Regions from separate parts of the Homo sapiens genome. Here region 2 is linked to region 1. The links are contacts of gene promoters, found by promoter capture Hi-C in blood cells and fetal thymus (Javierre and others, 2016). All regions are on one chromosome and are shown on one strand. The core of a region is centred on a gene start or on the middle of the fragment in contact, and the rest is flanking DNA. Distances in the headings are between cores, read along the strand shown. Region 1 holds the start of CXCL14 (C-X-C motif chemokine ligand 14). Region 2 has its middle 46 kb from the start of SLC25A48-AS1.

The links. The method cuts DNA at HindIII sites, captures the fragments that hold promoters and counts their contacts. A CHiCAGO score of 5 or more calls a contact.
Region 2: a fragment that was not itself captured here is called in contact with the fragment with the promoter of CXCL14 in region 1 in 1 of 17 cell types (M1 macrophages); the score reaches 5.3 in M1 macrophages.

The regions. Positions count from the first base shown.
Region 1 is chr5:135,577,144-135,581,196 of GRCh38, reverse strand. It overlaps CXCL14 (C-X-C motif chemokine ligand 14), which reads left to right and starts at 2,206. Exons shown (of 4, transcript NM_004887.5): 1 at 2,206-2,482; 2 at 2,658-2,763. The coding sequence starts at 2,419. It also overlaps a transcript of SLC25A48 not described here. The HindIII fragment of the contact is 10,061 bases long and covers 1-4,053 here.
Region 2 is chr5:135,698,206-135,702,258 of GRCh38, reverse strand. It overlaps a transcript of SLC25A48 not described here. Among named protein-coding and RNA genes, the nearest start is that of SLC25A48-AS1, 46 kb to the right of the region's middle. The HindIII fragment of the contact is 1,389 bases long and covers 990-2,378 here.

The sequences.
Region 1 (4,053 bases), core at 957-3,456:
AACCGCAATGGTCAGCACATATCAAACACTTACTCTGTGTTGGGGACCACATTAAAAGCATTACATGCACTATCTCATTTAATTCTGCCTATGCTGTACATATTATTATCATCTCCATCTCACAGATGAGGAAACCAATACCAAATAGAGTTAAGGTATTTGCCCAAAGTCACACAGCTAGTCCCTAGGATGCATACTCAGGCAATTTGACTCCAGACACCAGCCTCTTAGCCATTATACTACCCGGCCTCAGATGAAACCATTAAGGGAGCTATTGTTGTAGCAAGGCTAGCCACATGGAGCGATGTTCACAATATGCTAATAGGTATAGCAAGCAGGTTATTAAAGACTACATGCAGCCTGATCCCATGTGTACATGTGCACACAAAGCAAAAAGAGGATGCTTTGGGAAGATTTCACCCAAGATTTTACTTGCGTGAAAATGTTAGTTTTCTTCTGCTTGGGTTTTCTGATTTTTCTGGGCAAACGTGTTGTTTCTATATTTTAAAAAATTATTTTTAGAGTTAAAAACTAACATAAATGCCAAAAGTCACTCCCTCATACTCATCTCATGCATAAATGCAAATGTCCAGCTATTGGCTTTGCTTTAGGTATAGGCACAACAGCACGCATAGGCGCTGCTTGCTTTTCATGGCTCAGCTTCTTCTTGAAGCAGCAAGGGCTCTCCAGTTGGGAAGAGACGACACAGATTCTTCCCATTGCACCCTTCAGCAGACTGTCCCCATCATCCAGAAGCCCTCTGGGCATTTTTGCCTCCAGGGAACTGCCAGGCTGATGGCATAGAGCTGGGTGAGCTCTCTCCTGACAGCCAAGCCCAGGGACTCCAAGAGCTTGAGATGATCCACCTCCTGTCTCTGGGTCTCTCAAGGCAGCAAGAAGTGAAGGGCAGACAGGCCTCAAAGCAACAGAGTGGTCCAGGGACAGGAGTCCCAGTTCTGCAGCCGTATATACTGAGGACCCTCCTGGCCTAGTCACCTGCTTCCTAGCTCTGTGACCTTGGACAAGTTATTTCTTCTCTCAGAGCATGTTTCCACACCTGTCAAATAAAGAAATTAAAAGTACCAACTTGGAAGAAAAGTACCAATTGGTAAGAATCAAAGTAATAGATAAATTAGACATAAAACGATGGTGCCAATAAGTAACATTTCCTGGGTACTGACAACATGTATGATTTCTATAGTTCTCACAGCCACCCTATCAGAAACACTGTGATGATCTGCACTTTACAGATGATGAAACAAAAGCTGAGAGCGGTAAAGTCACTTGTGCTGGAAAGTAGTGAGGAGGGAATTTCTGCCACTATGGCTGGGCTCACACCACTATACCTCGCATTCTGGCACAATGTCTAGAACATGGGAAGGCCTTCATCCAGATGGTTACCACTGTCATCGCTCTCCACTAGGGCTCTCTACCTGGCTTTGGAGAGTAGTGTGAGAGTGAGGACTCCTCCTGGTTCTCCCCACCACCCAGACACTCACACAGCCACCAGGCCACTGACCCACTTTAAGGAGCTTTCCTTTGGGAGTCACCAAAACTCCTCCCCAATACCCGTCCCCACCCCCGCATACACACACATACCCTCTTTGAGTCAGTTCCAGTGATCACAGTCAATGACTTTGCTGCTGGACAGTCTATGACAAGCCCCTGTCCAGAACTGGCCTTGTGTTCTGGCCCAGCAGGGGCCCTTGGGGGTCAGGCCTGCAGGCACTCACACTTGGCACCTGCTCCAAAACCCTTTCAGGTCTTTGAGGATCTGAGCCCTGGGCCTGGGTCTCCCGCCGGCTCGGAAAAGCTGGCCTGCCGGGCCAGAGAGAGAACCACACGATTCAGAAAAGCAGTGCCCTTCAGCAGCCTCTCCACCGTCTGGGCTCCCCAAAGGCAGAGCGGGACGCTGGAAATGTGTGCGCGCTGTGGTATGGGTGTGCAAGTGTGCGAAGGCGGCGTGTTGTGTGAGCGAGAGGGTAGCGGATGTGTGTGTGCGTGTGCGCGCGTGGCTCCGGGTGTGCGCCGCTGCGATAGCGGGTCCTTTCCCGGGGCGGGCGACGGGCGGGCTGGGAAGGTCTCCTCCCCTCACCACATTGAGAAATCTCAGTGAGTCACCGAGTGGTTCTGCATATTAATGAGCTCGCTCGCTGCGAGGGCAGGAGCGGATTTAAAAGAGGCCAGGGCGGGCGGAGGGAGGCTGTGGAGAGAGCGCGGAGACAAGCGCAGAGCGCAGCGCACGGCCACAGACAGCCCTGGGCATCCACCGACGGCGCAGCCGGAGCCAGCAGAGCCGGAAGGCGCGCCCCGGGCAGAGAAAGCCGAGCAGAGCTGGGTGGCGTCTCCGGGCCGCCGCTCCGACGGGCCAGCGCCCTCCCCATGTCCCTGCTCCCACGCCGCGCCCCTCCGGTCAGCATGAGGCTCCTGGCGGCCGCGCTGCTCCTGCTGCTGCTGGCGCTGTACACCGCGCGTGTGGACGGTGAGTGCGGGGAGCTCCCCTTGTCGCCGTCTCGTCTTGTCCTGTCCTGGGGAACCCAAGCGCCAATTTCTAGGCATCCTGGGATCCCGCGGGGGGTGGTCTGGGTGGGCACCAAGGTGGTCGAGGGGCAGGAGACCGCCTAGCAACTAAGCCGTTGCCCCGCGCTCGCTCGCAGGGTCCAAATGCAAGTGCTCCCGGAAGGGACCCAAGATCCGCTACAGCGACGTGAAGAAGCTGGAAATGAAGCCAAAGTACCCGCACTGCGAGGAGAAGATGGTTATGTGAGTTCTCGCTCCTCACCTTGAGGGGGTGCGCACTGCTGTCAACCCAATGCCAGGGCACAGCCTGGGCCTGGGTCGGGCTAACAAACATTTCTCTCCGACTTTGTCAAGGCCCTGGAAAAGCCTTTGTAATTGCCCAGAGAGTCCTTAGGACGCTGGCGAGACACTCTGGAAGACAGTCGGGAAGGGGGGTCACTGTCCCGCTCCGGAACAGCGCCTCCAAGTTCACCCTTGCTAGGATTCAAATGAGCAGTCTCCCTATTTGTACCATGGGCCACCCACTCTGCTAGGGCCATCAAGGGTTAAAGGGTTCCCTTGTGCCAACTCAGAAAACCTAGACTGAAATCACTTAAAACACACTCACACCCAAACTGTGAGGCGTGCTGCCTTCCTGTCACTGGATAGAGGACTAATGCAAACACTATCTTAAATCCTGAGTCTCCTTCAGAGCCTTGTTCCAGTCAGAGACAAGTGGACCGCAAGTTTTTGGCTCCTAGAGATTTTATTTTGAGAACGCTCCACGAGCTTCCCTCACCGACTGTACTCCTTGTGGGTCCCCAATACGGAGCAGTACTGCAGAAAGTGCTCTGCTGGGGTTAATGTGCCACATGGCTGGAGCCCTGCTTGGTGGGGATGTGGGGAATGTTGGAAAAACTGGGGCAGAGTGAGAGAACACTTAGTTTCTTGCTCCTCCGCCTTCCCAATTAACCACTTGAGGCCAGCACCGCTGCCTCCTCATCAATATGCTCTTGGCCAGGAAGGGAGCCCTTGGCAAAGCGGCTACCAAATATTTGCCACAGACCATTGGCCCCTCTTCCCCTCCCCCAGAAACAGGACGCACTTTATTCTCAGTCTGGGCAAGTGCCCTCCACCAGCTGGCCCCCACCGGCGCAAAGGCCTTCACAGTGTCTGCGAAAGCAGTGCACACCCCTACCCAGCACCCCCCATCCCCGTCTAGGGGCTACACTGTCAGGCTGAAATTAGGGGAATTCAGAAATCCACTGGAACTGAGCTGACCCCACTGCCTTCCTTCACAGACACCTAAATTAACTTGCTTGTCCCTACCCCTTGCCTTGCAGACCAAATTCAAAGAAAATACCCAAAAATCCTTTTGGGTGGGGGCCAAGTGTCAAATGAGCTGGGAAAGGAGCTCCAAGCTCCTCAGGGCTTCCAGTTTGGGGGCTAAGAATGACAGGGGAATTCCAAGTTAAATCTCACTCGTCTAAGAGCTGAAAACCACTCTATTAACCAAACAAGTTTCTGAGACCTTGCAGGGGAAGAAAGCAGGGT
Region 2 (4,053 bases), core at 435-2,934, 120 kb before region 1:
CTGCAAAGACCCATTTGCAAATAAGGTGACATTTAGAGGTACCAGGCATTAGGACGTGGACATATCTTTTGGGAGGATATTATGGAACCCACTAGAGGTAAGTTAGAGAAAAATGAAAAAGCAGGAAGCAGTTCATGAGGTGGCTCAATGTATAGACTTTGTAGCCAAATTCCCACCCCTGCAATTGCTATGATTTCCAGCAAGTTAGTAAATGCAGTATCTCCAGGCTCATCTTTCTCATCCATATGTAAACATCCTAACACCTACCTCTTAGAATTGTTGCAAGATTAAAGAGATAAATATATAAAGCATGGAGCCCAGTGCCTGGGCACACAATAAGGATGTTAAGCAAAAGAGTGACATGGTCAGATTAATTTTTTAGAAGGAAATAATCACTCTTGTTTCCATGTGGAGGACAGGTTGGCAGGGGCAAGACAGCTTCTCTTTTGATCTTGCTGGGTTCCATCTCGAGTTCACCCAAGGATACACTCCATATAGCCCATCCAGCCACATATGAGGAATGCCCAGATCTGGACCACATGAGGACCTTGCCGAGGGAACATGGAGCATGGGCTGCCTATTAGTCTGCTGGCTCAGACACTATCAAAGGCCATGGCCTATGCTACCAAGAGTTTTGGGGCCTGTCTCTTTTAAAAGTGGGAGGGACAGTCCTTTATTGTGTACCTTAAAGGATGACATTGGGAATGAATGAGAAAATGCACAGCAAAAGCTTTGCAATATGCAATTCAGTGTTCAGGGTGTATATGTGGTGGGGGCCGGTGGCGGGGGGGAGTTATGTTCCTCAAAATACTGCTCCCAATATGTCACCAGGTCCCCTGCTTAGACATAGGCAGTTTGGCTAACTTTGGTAACAAGGAGGGTGAGAACAGGGTAGAGGTGATTATCAGAAAAAAACTCCCAAGATGTGAAGTTGTTGAACCTCAGGATGTGACCTAGATGGAGCCATCACTAGCCATGTCACTGAAGCTTTGGTTCCCAGTAATCAGAGACGATGAGGGGAGAGCAGGGTGGTACACAGCCTGGGCCAAGTGGACCAGGGCAGGCAGGCTGAGCATCAGTCCTGGGGGTTCTTGACTGGAGGACTGACGGCCCACACTCTGAGGAAGATGGGTGCTACTCGGCCCATTACTACTGGAACTGGTGGCTGACAATACTCTAGGAGTGGGGAGAGCTGCAGGTCCCCAGGTCACTCTGTGCAGTGGAGGATGGCCCATTGCCAGATCTATAGGCAGGATGGAGCCCAGCAGAGCTGCCTCCTGATTCCAAGGCAGGAAAGTGAGCTCCCCCAGGTCCCAGGCCCTCTGCGATTTATGAGACCCTGTCATGCCTCAACCTGCACCAAATCTGCCTTAGCAGCTGGGAGCAGAGGCAGGCCTGGCAGGCCTCGGAGCACGTGCACAAGTGGTATCCACTGTGTTGTTACTGGTAGGTGCACCCCTGCTAGAGCTGCAGACATGGGGAGCCATGCAGAGGCCCAGGTAGGCACCCAGAGCCTGAGGGGACTGCAGAACTCTCCCTCAGACAGGGTGCCTATGAAGAGAGGAGGGTGCCTGCACCATTGAGAACAGTATTTACAACCTGGGCCACAAAATATAAAACCTAAGCCTGGGCCTTAGGGCTGGAGACAGCCAGGGAGGAACACAAGGAACAGCAAACACACAGGGGCCACCAGACATCTGCCCGTGGGGGCCTCTCCCAGAGATGGGCTCTAGAGGCTGGGCACCCTCCTTCATTGCTGTCCTCGGCCCCTAGCATAGCGTTTGATGTTTAGCAGGCATTCACTCAATATTTGGCTGACTAAAATTCACATTTTCAGTCCAATATCATTTTCTTTTCTTTCTTTCTTTTTTTTTTTTTTTTTTTTTTGAGACAGAGTCTTGCTCTGTCACCCAGGCTAGAGTGCAGTGGCATGATCTCGGCTCACTGCAACCTCCCCCTCCTGGGTTTAAGCAATTCTCCTGTCTCAGCCTCCCAAGTAGCTGGGATTACAGGCACACGCCACCAGACCCGGCTGATTTTTGTATTTTTAGTAGAGATGGGGTTTTGCTATGTTGGCCAGGCTGATCTCGAACTCCTGACCTCAGGAGTTGGCCTCCCAAAGTGCTGGGATTACAGGCATGAGCCACAGTGCTCAGCCCAATACCATTTTCTAAGTGCAGGACTGCAAGGCCATGTGTCAAATGCTGGTGGGGACTCAGAGATAACAAAATGAGGGGCAGACAGAATTAAAGGGAATAAGGCTTCAGGCCACGGAGTTGAGATTCTGTCTCCACCATTCAGTGGCTTTGTAACCCCTCAGAGACTCCATCTCCTCATTGGGTAAAAACAGGGTGTCAGGATAGCTTTTGATACAAGCTTTCAGGGAGCACTGGAAAGTGTAATAAGAGACTGGATATTAAAGAACCAGATAATAATGCATGCTGCATGACTAAGAAGCTCCTCTCTCAACACTTACCAAGCAGGTGGCTGTGAGCATTGCTGAGACCCTCACTAGGCAGTCTATCACTGTGCTACACAGAGGGAGTCTTCAGTCCATGCTGGCTATTACCATTGTTTTTAAAATCAAGTTATGAAATATAGAACATGTTACACATAATAAAATGCACAGATCTCACGTGTTCCAGTTGATGAGTGCTGATAATTGTACAGACCCAATTTCCAGTCACCCTGGAAGTTCCCTCGTGCCCTTTTTCAATCACGCTCTGCCTCCTTGCTCCCAGAGGCAACTTTTCCATCATCGTAGACAAGTTGTGCTTATTCCAGTACTTCATGTAAATGGAATCATGTCATGTATCTCTTGGTCTCATTCTTCCATGTCTGGCTTTTTTTTTTTCCCAGCGTAATGTTTTTGGGGGATTCATCCATATTGTTGCAGGTGTTAGTAGTTTGTTCTTTCTCCTTGATGCATAATATCACATCGTAATGTATACACATCACATTTAAAAATCTATTCTCCTGTTGAACACTTGGTTTGTTTCCAGCTTCCGGCTATTATAAATAAGTTTGCTATAAACATTCCTGTATAAGTCTCTGTACGGACATATGTTTTTACTTCTCTATGGTAAATAATTAGAAATCAAATCACTGGGTCATATTATAGATATGCTGCCAAACCGTTTTCCAAAGCGGTTTTATCATTTATGTTCTTACCAGTATTGTATGAGAGTTCCATTCATTCCATATCCTCACCAGCATTTGGTGTTACCCGTCCTTTTTATTTTCATCATTCTATTGGGTGTGAGTTAATATTTTAGGATGGGTTTGATTTGCATTTCCCTGATGACTAATGATCTGGAGCATCTTTTCATGAGTGCATTGGCCATTCACATATCTTCCTTTGTGAGATCTCCGTTCTCATTTTATAAATTAACTTGTTTGTCCTTTTTTCTGATCCACAGAAGTTTTAAAATATATATTCTGGATATAATTCCTTGATCAGATGTATGTATTTCAAATATATGTATTTCAAATGACTTATTCATTTCTTTATTGGTATCTTCTGAGGATGAAAACCAGAAACTTTTACTGTTGATGACCAGTTTATTCTTGTTTCTTTTTACGGCTAGTGCCCTTTGTATTCTATCTAAGAAATCTTTGCTTACCCCAAGATTATAAAGATATTCTTTCCAATATCTTTTTTTCAAGAAGCTTTTTGGTTCCAGGTTTTATATTTAGGCTTATGATCCATCTCAAATTATTATTATTTTTAAAAACTGTAGTGGTTGCTCAGAGCCATAAGGAAACACTCAAGTTCTTTATAGGATCAGACTTTTCTTAAGCTTCAGGCTGAAGATAGTATCAGTTCTAAGAAAAGACTTTTGTTAGAGTCATGGCTTTGACCCAGCCACATAGTTCTGCTGACTGACAACAGGCCACAGAGAGCTGGCTTAAGAACCACCAGCCAAAGAAAAAGCTAAGTTGATTTCCCTGTGTCCAACCATGGGGCACTAAGCTGATTGTTACCAACTCAAATCACCACAATGTGACCTTACAGTGACCATGAGAACCATAGCAGGTCCCAGCCTAGGGCCT